2 separate regions of the Homo sapiens genome follow, and region 1 is linked to region 2. Evidence: promoter capture Hi-C in 16 types of primary human blood cells and fetal thymus (Javierre and others, 2016). All regions are on one chromosome and are shown on one strand. The core of a region is centred on a gene start or on the middle of the fragment in contact, and the rest is flanking DNA. Distances in the headings are between cores, read along the strand shown.

Region 1 (5,714 bases), core at 1,051-3,550, 840 kb before region 2:
CAAAAGAAAAATATCTGCTTTTTAAAAGGTGGTGTTGTATCAATGGGGACATAAAATCACTATACTTTTTGTTTATTCCTGCAAATATTCATAGGAAGTAAAAGAGAGCAGAACACATTAATATAACTTCAGATATACGGTGGACATTGCTTTGTTGAATTGAGTTCAGGGGTTGCCGATGTCTGAATTACTCTGTAAAAAGACAGAATTTGTTTTTTCTTCTGAAAGGGTGGGCACAGGGAAAAGGAGGAAGGGGAAGAGGAAAGAGTAGACAGAGTAGACAGTAAAAAGGAGGGCTGAGCCACCTGATGGGGTGTGTGAAGTGTTCTTAGGCTCTAACATTGAATTTAAATTTTTTTTTGCTGCTTTCAAGTATAACTTCTTCCTCTCTCCAAGATTTTTATTAAAGTCTGCAACAACAAAGGACTTTTGTGTGTGAGTGTAGATCAAGGAGAAGGGTTAGAGGTGAAGTCATAGTAATTTAAATTTAACATTCATTTCCTCATTCTTTTTTAGTAATTAGAATAAAATATTATTCTCATTTTACCTCTTAAATTTTGAAATAAACATTAATATTACAGTATTCACAAATAGAACACAGCAATCTTATATCATTTTCAAGTGACACAAGGGTCGTTTTAAGTCTCCAAGGAATGCATGGCAATGGCAATGTTCATGCAGCTGGTCATCAGCACCCGGCACGGTGGTGTGAGTCAAAGCCTGGAGTAGTGTTAACAGCTCTGAGTGCACATTTACACAACACCATAATGATGGGAAAGTATGATCCATTGGCAATTCACAGGCTGAGTTTACGTCACCAACTGATTTATAGTATGCACTATTATTACCCTGTGTCACAGAATATAGAAGTCAGGCACCCATTTGCATATAGTGGGTATGCAACCATTTGACACCTCATCAAGCATTTGAAAAGAAAAGAGGATTTCAAGTGATATTAATGGTATTAGCGGTAATACTAGGTTGCACAGACTCTTCTTTTATTTGGTTTTTAATGTTTTAACCAGCAATTGTAATCTCTCAACACTGGGGCTTAGTTGTAGTGAGGTCACTGTGTGTCCTTCCTGTAATGTGGTACAGCGTTCATCTCAATTGCTACAGTGTCGTAAAGTTATAATGGGATTATTCTTTCACATGCACAATCCCTGGATTTCAAAATGCAAATCTCAGGAGATTACAGTTAAACACTGTGTTATTGACCTAATTTCTCCGATGGTTTAAATTCATTTATATTTTTATCTGCAAAATTTTATGCTTATAATTGTAAGCTTATTCAGTATGCTCAATATTCTAGTTCATGACAACTCAGCTCCATACCATCCCATTAGATGACCTAGCGGGCTGAATGAATAATTACAGAATCAGTTACATGAATGCCTGCATATACATGTATGTGTACGTATTTAAAACAATAAATATAAATGCTAGTTTTAATTTACATTATATTGAATAATTTCCTGATAGATTAGTTTTCTACTATCTGTGTCATGTCATATCATGGTTTAAGATAACTGAAAATGTTTTTAGGATTGTTGAGAGAAGAGAAAACAGATAGAAATACTTTAGAATAAAATGCTCAATTTTACCATAATATTTAGTACCCGTACAATCTTATGAAGAGATTCATACTACCTACAGTATAAATTATTGGATAATTTATTTCCATTTTTTTGCTAACCAAATTCCCACAACTATGATGTAAAAGATATATATGACTTATTATTTCTGAAATCAAAGTTCATTTTTCTTTCCATTAAGGCAACCATGAAATTTTGTTGATAATAAGATTGCGTTAGTTTAGATTTATTTGTTGCTATAATTTAGTTTTAGAAAGCATTGACTAGGAAAAATTATAATCTGTTAGAGAAGCATATATTTACTTTTTGATGTATTAAAATGAACACTGATTTGCTCAATAAGAATTTGTGTAAATAGTGTTATATTTGGTGTCCAATATGTTCACTTGTATACGCACAAAGAGGGCTCACCGTGGAAAGATCTGTGGGGAGGTTAGATTGGTATCCTCGTCTCCTGAGAACCATTTTACCCCCCACATGCTCCATTCCTCATGCTTCGTTGCTATCTCTTCTTTCAAATATGTTAGCGGTAAAATGGCTTAAGTGAGATAGACAGGTATATTCTGAAAGAAATATATATTTATTATTTACTTAATGCTATGTAAATATTGTAAAATGAAGGAGAGCACATTTTCATGATTCTGGAAATTTTTGTTAGTTTTAAATATATATATATGTTTGAAAACCAATGTCCGTGGCAATCTTGGTTGGCAAATACATTTCTATCTCCAACCCCTTTCTTATGCATCCATTAGAAATCAGAAAAATCAGGCCAGGCATGGTGGTTCACGCCTGTAATCCCAGCACTTTGGGAGGCTGAGATGGGTGGATCACCTGAGGTCAGGAGTTCGAGGCCAGCCTGGCCAACGTAGTGAGACCCTGTCTCTACTAAAAATACAAAAAATTAGCTGGGCGTGGTGGAAGACACCTGAAATCCCAGCTACTTGGGAGGCTGGGGCAGGAGAATCGCTTGAACCCAGGAGGCAGGGGTTGCAACGAGCCGAGATTGCACCACTGTACTCCAGCTTGGGCAACAAAAGTGAAACTCCCTTAAAAAAAAAAAAAAAAGGAATCAGAAAAAATCTTAATTCTCACTTTCCTAGCTTCCCCTATGATCAAGAGTCACTATGGGACACAGTTCACAGATGCAAGTACAGGTATTCTGGGAAAGATTTTACTGGTGGCACACCTTCCTTGTTCTTTTTGTTGATACTGATATAATGTTTGGTACTTTGGAAGCTATTTTGTGAACCTGTGGTAGTAAATATGAGGAAAAGATCCAGAGTACTAGGAATCCAACCCCAGCAGCCAATTCCCTGTACCTGTGTGCCCCAATATGGTAGTCACTAGCTCCAGCTGGCTAATGAGCCCTTCAAGTCCAGCTAGTCTGAATGGGGATGGGCTGCAGGTGTAAAATGTGCACTGAATTTTAAAGCCTTAGTATGAAAAAAAGGAAGAAAATTACCTTAATAATTTTAATATCGATTGCATGTTGAAATGATCATATTTGGATATATTAGGTTAAATAAAAGGTATTATTAAAACTAATTTTATCTGTTTCCTTTACTTTTTTTAAATGTGTCTGCTAGAATGTTTTCTATATATGGCCTGTGCTTGTTTCTCACATTATATTTCTATTGGGCAGCACTTCTCTCCACTTCTTTTTGTGTGAAAAAAGCTATATTTAGGCCAATAAAGTTTGGGCTGGTGGTTATGGCTGAAAGCTTCATGGAAGTCATTGCTTAGTCTTTCCTGTACAAAAGAACAGATGCTGTAGTTGTAATCAAACCCTACTATAGGCTTTACTTTTGTGCTCATCCAATACTACCTTCTGGTTGTTATTAGTTTTAAATGTTCATATGTTTTAAACAGTAAAATGAAGTAGACGTGGGTGCACATCTAGGCTGAACTTCTTATCGCCCATGGATATTAAGCAAGTTATTTAACCTCCCGGTGCCTCAGTTCCCCTAGTTTTAAAACAAACAAGATAATGCCTAACCTAGCTTATAAGACTGTGTAAGAATTAAGTGATAGAGTTTATATGAAGTGGGTAACTTGTATGCTTTGTACATAGTTGTTGCTTAAGGTGTGGTAGGTCTTATTAGAAAAGGGTAAATCTCAGGGTCTCTAGCAGTATTTGAGTCAATAAAGGAGTGGGTGGAGGGAAAGTTGTTAAGAAAATGTGTAGCTGGTCATTGTATTGAGTGGTGAAAACTTGATGTCAGGCTCAGGAGGGCTCTGGGTGGGAGACAAGGCTTGGTCCTCCTTGAGGGTCCTGCCAGAAGCCCCTCTCCTACTCTTAGCTATCGCCTTTTCCATTTTCTCTTTGCAAGGCCAGTGAAGTTTGGGATCCAGCCCGCATAAAAAATTGGGAATAGTTGTCGGGCGCGGTGGCTCACGCCTGTAATCCCAGCACTTTGGGAGGCCGAGGCGGGCAGATCAGAAGGTCAGGAGATAGAGACCATCCTGGCTAACACGGTTAAACCCCGTCTCTACTAAAAAATACAAAAAATTAGCCGGGCGTGGTGGCTGGCGCCCGTAGTCCCAGCTGCTCCGGAGGTTGAGGCGGGAGAATGGCGTGAACCCGGGAGGCGGAGCTTGCAGTGAGCCGAGGTCGCGCCACTGCACTCCAGTCTGGGCGAGAGAGCGAGACTCCGTCTCAAAAAAAAAGAAAAAAAAAAAAAAATGGGAAAGCAGTGCAGCCCTAGTCAGGAAAGGAAAAGCAGTGTGATGATGAACTTACAGAAAAGAAGCTTGTTTGACTTAGGGAATATGTACAATTTGTTTTTTGTTTATTTTTCTGAGTTTGCCCATGTTGGCACACATGTTTAGGAAGATAGTTTTGTATTATCTTAAATGTTTTAAAGGAGAAAGGGAAAGATAAGAGTAGTAAGACCAGAGTAGTAAATAGTATTAATGCTGATATGGGGGAGATGTAGGCCTCCGGCAGGTGCTCTTGAGAGAAAAGGGAAATCCACAGAAATACAACCATAATCATCCATGCATTTTCCCCGCCACACCACACACTACATGTGGCCCCCAAAACATCCAACGGCTAGCAGTATCACTGCTGAGATACATGATTTAATAAAAGAGTCAGTGATATTGCAGTGAATATTTCAAATGCGACATTTTAAGAAGAGCACAATTGAGAAAGAGAGGAACTTAAAACGGATTAAAATTTAAGCAATTCCCAATCAAATGGAAGTGTTCTGGGAAGAGTGCCAGAGAGTATTGTTGAACTGGTTTTAATAAAAACATTCTAAATTTATCCAGCTGAAATTATTTACAATTTTTTGAAATTACGTATGTGGATACGTTGTATGGACACTTAAAATACAATATTTATTCTTTTTAAAAAACCAAAACCTGCTCTTGTTGGCTGAGGATTCAGGGGATATAGTATGTTCAGAATGCAGAATCCCTGAATTTTAAGATGGATCCAAATCTTAGAGGTCAGTAAAGTGCAATTCTCTTTCTTGTTGGTAGGAAAATGCATCTGAGGAAACTGAGGCTTATCATCAGTAAGCAAGTTCTGCATCAGGGCAGAACATAGCTTTGCTCGTGCCCGAGTGAGGGCCTCTTTTCACAACACACAGCTGCCTTACAGGTAAACACTGTGACAAGCTGCCAGGGGCCTGCTCTCTCTAAGAACAGATAGGCTCTTCTGTTAACCTTACTGGGTAACAGCTGTGCCTTTTCACAAGTGCCTAGGGGTAAAATTTAGATTGTCTAAAGTAGTCATAAACGTGGAAGATATCTGAAACATTCTCATGGGCTGGAGAAGTAGCTTGGCATTATCTATAATGCAGAGGTCATGTCTGTGGAAATAGACCGAAGGCTGTACAAGCTTCAAGTCCATTCCACATGCTATCTTGGTAAATGTCTGATTGATGTTTAAAAATAAAAACAAAAATAGTCCACTGTCCAAGGAACAACAACAACAATAAAAAGATACTGCCTCCTCTCCCCACTCCTTTTATATAGAGAAAAGTTGGATTGCAAAGAAAGATGCAGTACAGCAAGAACACGATGTGTGTTCACTCTAGGTAAAGCATTCCATGTGTGTGGCTGGCACTCCTGGCTTCTCAAACACTCCTTTCAGCCCGTTTTGCAGTA
Region 2 (5,570 bases), core at 1,040-3,539:
TGGCATCGAAATCTCTGTAGTTTTCAACCAGTCCTTTGAAGAATATTTCCCTACATTTTGTCTCCAATCCATACCTCCTCCTATTCCGGCCCTTTACCTACCACAAATACTCTAATATACTCTGTATTCCATATGTGCCAAATGCTTTCATTTTTGGCTCACTTGGACACTCTCTGGACTTGCCTGCCTGCAGTTCCTTCTGAATCATTTTCTTACTAGTGAACTCCTACCCATCCTTCAAGCTGCAACTCAACTACCACTTTCTTAATAAGGGCTTCCCTGCATCTGCTGCCCCCACCTCATCCTTTCCACTCCTGCTATGGTTGCTCTTCTCTGCTTATTGGCATCACTCCCTTTTCCCCATCTGTCCAGAATGGCGCCTACATAATGGAAACCTTTTACTTTTCACTAGAGAGTTGACAATTTAGAGATTCTATATCATTTACATTCTATTTTCAGGCCAGGTATTGCTTTGTACTCATTTTGCCACTCCTGTAGCTTTCTGCAAACATGAATGCCTTTTTTCCCAGTGACAAGCAGTTTTTAAGTTTTCAAGTGTGAAAAGAGAAATAGCATGAGGGGCGCCAATGGATCTGCGTGTCAGCACATTGGCAGATTCTCCAAAATGTTTTCAAATTGTCAATTCCAAATAAGATTTTAGTTTCTTTCAAGTTTCAGAAAACGTGTATCTAACTTTGGAACAATGTAAGTGTTGTGCTGGAACTTTGAAAAAACACCAGAGTCACCACTGTCTAAGTTCTCTGGGCAGTATCTGCTATTATTTTCAATTCTGACAGACTTGGCACTTGAGGATTGCGCAGCCTCTGGTGACACAATGTGGAAAGAAGTTAGAGACACAAAGTAACATGGCATACACAGAAAAGTGAGAAGGATCTCTCTTTTCCCCTGGCTGCTTCTATCCACCCCAATTCCCCACCCCAGTCATCAAACTATTATCTGGCACCATTAACTTAAATTCAAGTGAAAATTGTGTTCTCTAACTAAAAACATTGAGTTTGTGGACTGAATACATTATTAGCAAGGGCTTTTCAAACTTTCATTTAAGTTTCATTATCAAGAGCTCTAAAATTGATCACTGATCTTAAGATTATCAACATACCTTTATTTTCTGAAGTTGTGAGAGGAATATAATAATCTTGTTTTCTTTTTAGTATAAGAAGAGATAGATGGGCGGAAGGATATCTGAGTAACCATTTTCTGGGAGATATTTTAAAGATAAGTGATGCTGGTTATTAAAATATAAATTACAAAATTGTTTGGCTGAACTAGATTGCAATAGGTTGTTCAGCAATGGGATTGGAAATAACAGAGACCATTGATAGTCATGGTGTAAAATAAGTGAGAAAGTACGAGGACATTATTATTTAGCTTTTGGATTTGGAATGTTAAAGAATAAGAATACCCCAATATTATTAGACTATCAGTGGTTGAAAGTTGAATGGAGGAGCTGTGAATTATGCATTGTTTCTCTTGCAGAACCCAGAGATCCTAATGTGAGATGGTGAGGGAGGGGGATATGTATTATTAAGAAATTTAGGTTTGATCTGTATTACTTTTACAACACAGAACGAGAAAAGAATGTAGACCTCCGGCTGGGGTTAGACTTGCTCCCTTCCGTAAGATGATGAAGGTCAACTTCCCTGTTTGAAAAAAAACAAAGTATGCTCTATGTGCGCGGAAAATCACTGTGCCAGATCTAGTAAAAAGCCACGATACCATTGGGTGTGGAAATGCAGAGACCCTCTGATTCAGGCTGTGTATTAGTGTCTTTCTGAATCACAAAGAACTCATGGAGAGTTATGATCACATTGAACACAGTAAAGGAATAACTATAATCATTTTTTTCAATTATACAAACATGATTGACTTTTTAACGAAAGACTGCTATTCTTTCAAAACACACGTTTCTCTCGCATTTCAGTTCCTTTTGCACTCACATTGCCATATGATACTCCTATCAAGGCTGTGATTTCTTCGGTGAATTAAGCAACAGAGCATGGATAGCAAACAATAAAACAGCTACTTTTCATGCAACACAAAAGAGGGAGCATTTTTCTCAGCACCGCGGCCTCATCACATCTTCTGTGTTTCCTGTCCCATGGGCGACGCCCCCACTCCCACCCGGTCTCCTTCCCGAGCAGCTCTGGGCTGCAGAGCCAGCTGCGTGCCATCCCGCTCTGCTTCAGCGCACGCTGAAGACGGCACTAGGACCCAGGGAAGTCCCCGAGCGGGGTTCGCGGAAAGGCAGCCAGACTCCTCCTTATCTCCAGTGTCAAACTTGACATCAGCCTGCGAGCGGAGCATGGTAACTTCTCCAGCAATCAGAGCGCTCCCCCTCACATCAGTGGCATGCTTCATGGAGATATGCTCCTCTCACTGCCCTCTGCACCAGCAACATGGATTGTCAGCTCTCCATCCTCCTCCTTCTCAGCTGCTCTGTTCTCGACAGCTTCGGGGAACTGATTCCGCAGCCTTCCAATGAAGGTAAGCCAGGTACCGCGACGCACGGAGCTCTGCCCCGCGGGGCTCACGCTCTTCAAAGCACGTTCTCACCGAAGCCTTGCACGTCGGGAAGGTGCCTCCGAATAGAGCAGTTTGCTCTGAGAGTGAAGGAAAGATGTGCCTTTTTTTTTTCCAACTGTCTTCTAAAACACTTCAGGAGATAATTTTAGATGGTCTAAACTTTGAAAATGTGTTTTTAATCTGACACCATTTCGAGCAATTACCTTGTTTGCCAATTTGAGCAGAAAGAAAGAAAGAAAATCCTCCAGCGTTGCAACCCAGTTATGTTAATTGCCAAATAGCCAAGGCAGTATTTTATTTTCTAATTATGACCATGTGGTACTCCGAGAAGTTTGAAAGAAAATTCAGCCTTCCTCTCTAGACTCTTTAGTATGTTTAAAGGTAATGACAGGTTGTTCCTACTTGGGATCATGGCATTTATGAATGGACTAAAGGGAAATCAGAGTTTGTCGAAGCGGAGGTGCGTGTTTATGGTGCAAGGGCTGTGTTGAAGTTGTGTGTATCCCGCCAGGCAATGGTTTGCTCTATGGTACAGGTTCTAAAGAGCAGCATATGCCACATTAACGTAAGTAATATTTGCAAGAATTACAATAAGCTTAGGTTGGATTCTCTTTGTTTAAAGGCTTATATACAAATAGGAGAATGTATTTAATGAATAGTGGATAGCTCCTGGGAAGATATAGTAAATAACTGAATAGTAGATTAAGAGAGAATGTTCATATGCAGCAAATGGCATTTCCTTGATGTTGTGTTATTTATTATCCTTGTAATGAGCATTAATTCCTTTTCAGTGGGTTAAAGTGCAAACCTAATGTTAAGGACACCAATGTGTTCTATAAGATTGTGTACTTAATACATACATTTTCTTTCTCCTGTATTCCTTTTGTGATCTATTCTTGTGAATACAGTCACTAACTCGTAAAACAAACTTCTCTAAATAATTGATTAGTGTAAAGCCACACTTACAACATTAATTTCCTCTTAGTGATTTTGAACTTATAACAGTAACATTTAGCAATTTATTTTGCAAGTTAACAATACCGAGCAACTGATGTGCAAACATCATGTTATATACATCACTCCTTAGAAAATATATTGTCAAGCCAATACTGTTGTATATGTACCTTAATTTTAAAAACACGAGTAAAAACAAAATACTTAGAAAGTTTTTTATTAAATGTAATAACTGCCTGATACTCGGTGACCTACTTTCACTGCTAATAGAGCAGTAATTTATCTCCTTCCTTACTGACTGCCTTTATCAATTTGGCAGTTTTCATTAAATGTTCTGAATCTTTTTTCTAAATAAGAAAATGAAAATTCTAAAATATAAGGATCAAGAAAATTATCTTACCCACAAATGACTTTTTATTTTACAAACCAAATTAAAATGTTTATTTGAAAGTAAGAGTCAATCATTCTTCCTGAATGAAAGGTAAGAGTATTCATTTGTATAACGGGTAACATGTATAATAGGTAACATATCAATAAATTAAACTTAATGTTTTAAAAATTTTTGTTCTTTGCAGATATTAAAATATTGACAATAACTAGAAAAATAGTATTAAAATTCCCACATTGTCATGATAAATTATATTTTCCAGATAGAATGGTTATGAACTATGTAGATATGGATATTACTGAATTAATTATGCACAAGAATGTAGCTGTTAGTCAGTATTTTTGTGGAAAACAACCTTTAAGTAAACTGCAAGAGAAAAAAAAAGACACCAAACTATTTCACACCTATGTAAAATTAATCAGTATTAATTTAATGAAACAGAGTTAATCAAATACAAATTGCTTTTAAGCCTCACCTCATGTATGTTTGGGGATATAATGTATATAATTATACAGACAGGTACACATTAACCATATGGATATAGAAAGGTAAATATATTCAGAAAGCTGACATAATTGCATTTAATTTGCTTGGATGAAAGTTTATCCATCATTCATGGGATTATTCCTTCCAGATTGTGTCCTATGGGTAGTGTCTCTTTTCCTTCCTGTGATTGTGAAGGGAAGCTTTAAAACAAATTTAAGATGATTTAACTTAGGTAATACTTGAGTGAGATTTTAAATATTATCCATAGCTGGGCTCTCAGTTGAGTTGAATAACATGAAAAGTGAAAATGCCAAGTATGTGCCAAGATTTCCGTGCAATTTTTCTAACAATGTAATTTAAATAGAAAGCAATTCTTTTGAAAATGTATATATGAGAGGAGTGGTGATTTAAAAATGGTATTAATGTAGTTTTCTGATATAATTTTTTAATTTTGAAATATGAAATACTAGACTGTATTTAAAATATTATGATTGAAATATTTCAACACTGTAAAAAATTTATGAGAAATTTACTGAAACATATTTACTAGAATATATTCTTCAATCTGTTATGAAGTTAGGCATTTGAGAACCAAAGAGAACAAAACCAGGCCATTGACTTAATTGCTAGGACATTTGCAGTTGTGTGATGTGTTTTTTAATTTAAGATTTAATCATTAAACATCAATATTGAAATGCCATGGGTCCCTGATAAGAAAAATAACTTAGAAAATGTTTAATCTGAATTTTCCTTCTATTAATGTATTTACAAATATCTCTCTTATATGCTTTCAAGAAAATGACTCCAGGTGATAATAGGGACTCATCAACGATAACAGATATTCATAATTCCAATGATCACTTGACTCAGCAATTGGCCTATATACTTAAACAGAACTTTATAAAAACTTTATTAAATTCTTATCAGGTCTCTCTGTTTACATGGCTTAAGAAAAGACTTTTAATGGGAGATCAGCTGTTTTTCATGGCAAAATATGATTGCTACACTACGTATTATTTTAAAAGTTCATATACTTACTCCTAGTTTCCATACCACAGGGATGATTAATGGTAAACAGAAATAACATTGGAACAAAGTTAAAACTGGATATAAAATAAAATTATCAACTGTGGTTACTTCAACCCTTTCAGAATTGGTAAAAATACTTTCTTTAAACACTTTTATACATTTATGGCAG

The links. Contacts are between HindIII fragments. The CHiCAGO score rates a contact against its expected background, and 5 or more counts as called.
Region 1: a contact is called between a fragment that was not itself captured here and the fragment with the promoter of EPHA3 in region 2, in 1 of 17 cell types (naive B cells). The highest score is 6.0, in naive B cells.

Annotation. Positions count from the first base shown.
Region 1 is chr3:88,262,824-88,268,537 of GRCh38, forward strand. No RefSeq gene overlaps it. Among named protein-coding and RNA genes, the nearest start is that of CSNK2A2IP, 73 kb to the right of the region's middle. The HindIII fragment of the contact is 2,033 bases long and covers 1,285-3,317 here.
Region 2 is chr3:89,105,332-89,110,901 of GRCh38, forward strand. It overlaps EPHA3 (EPH receptor A3), which reads left to right and starts at 2,290. Exons shown (of 17, transcript NM_005233.6): 1 at 2,290-2,505. The coding sequence starts at 2,418. RefSeq lists an enhancer at 2,132-2,271. The HindIII fragment of the contact is 3,372 bases long and covers 1-3,137 here.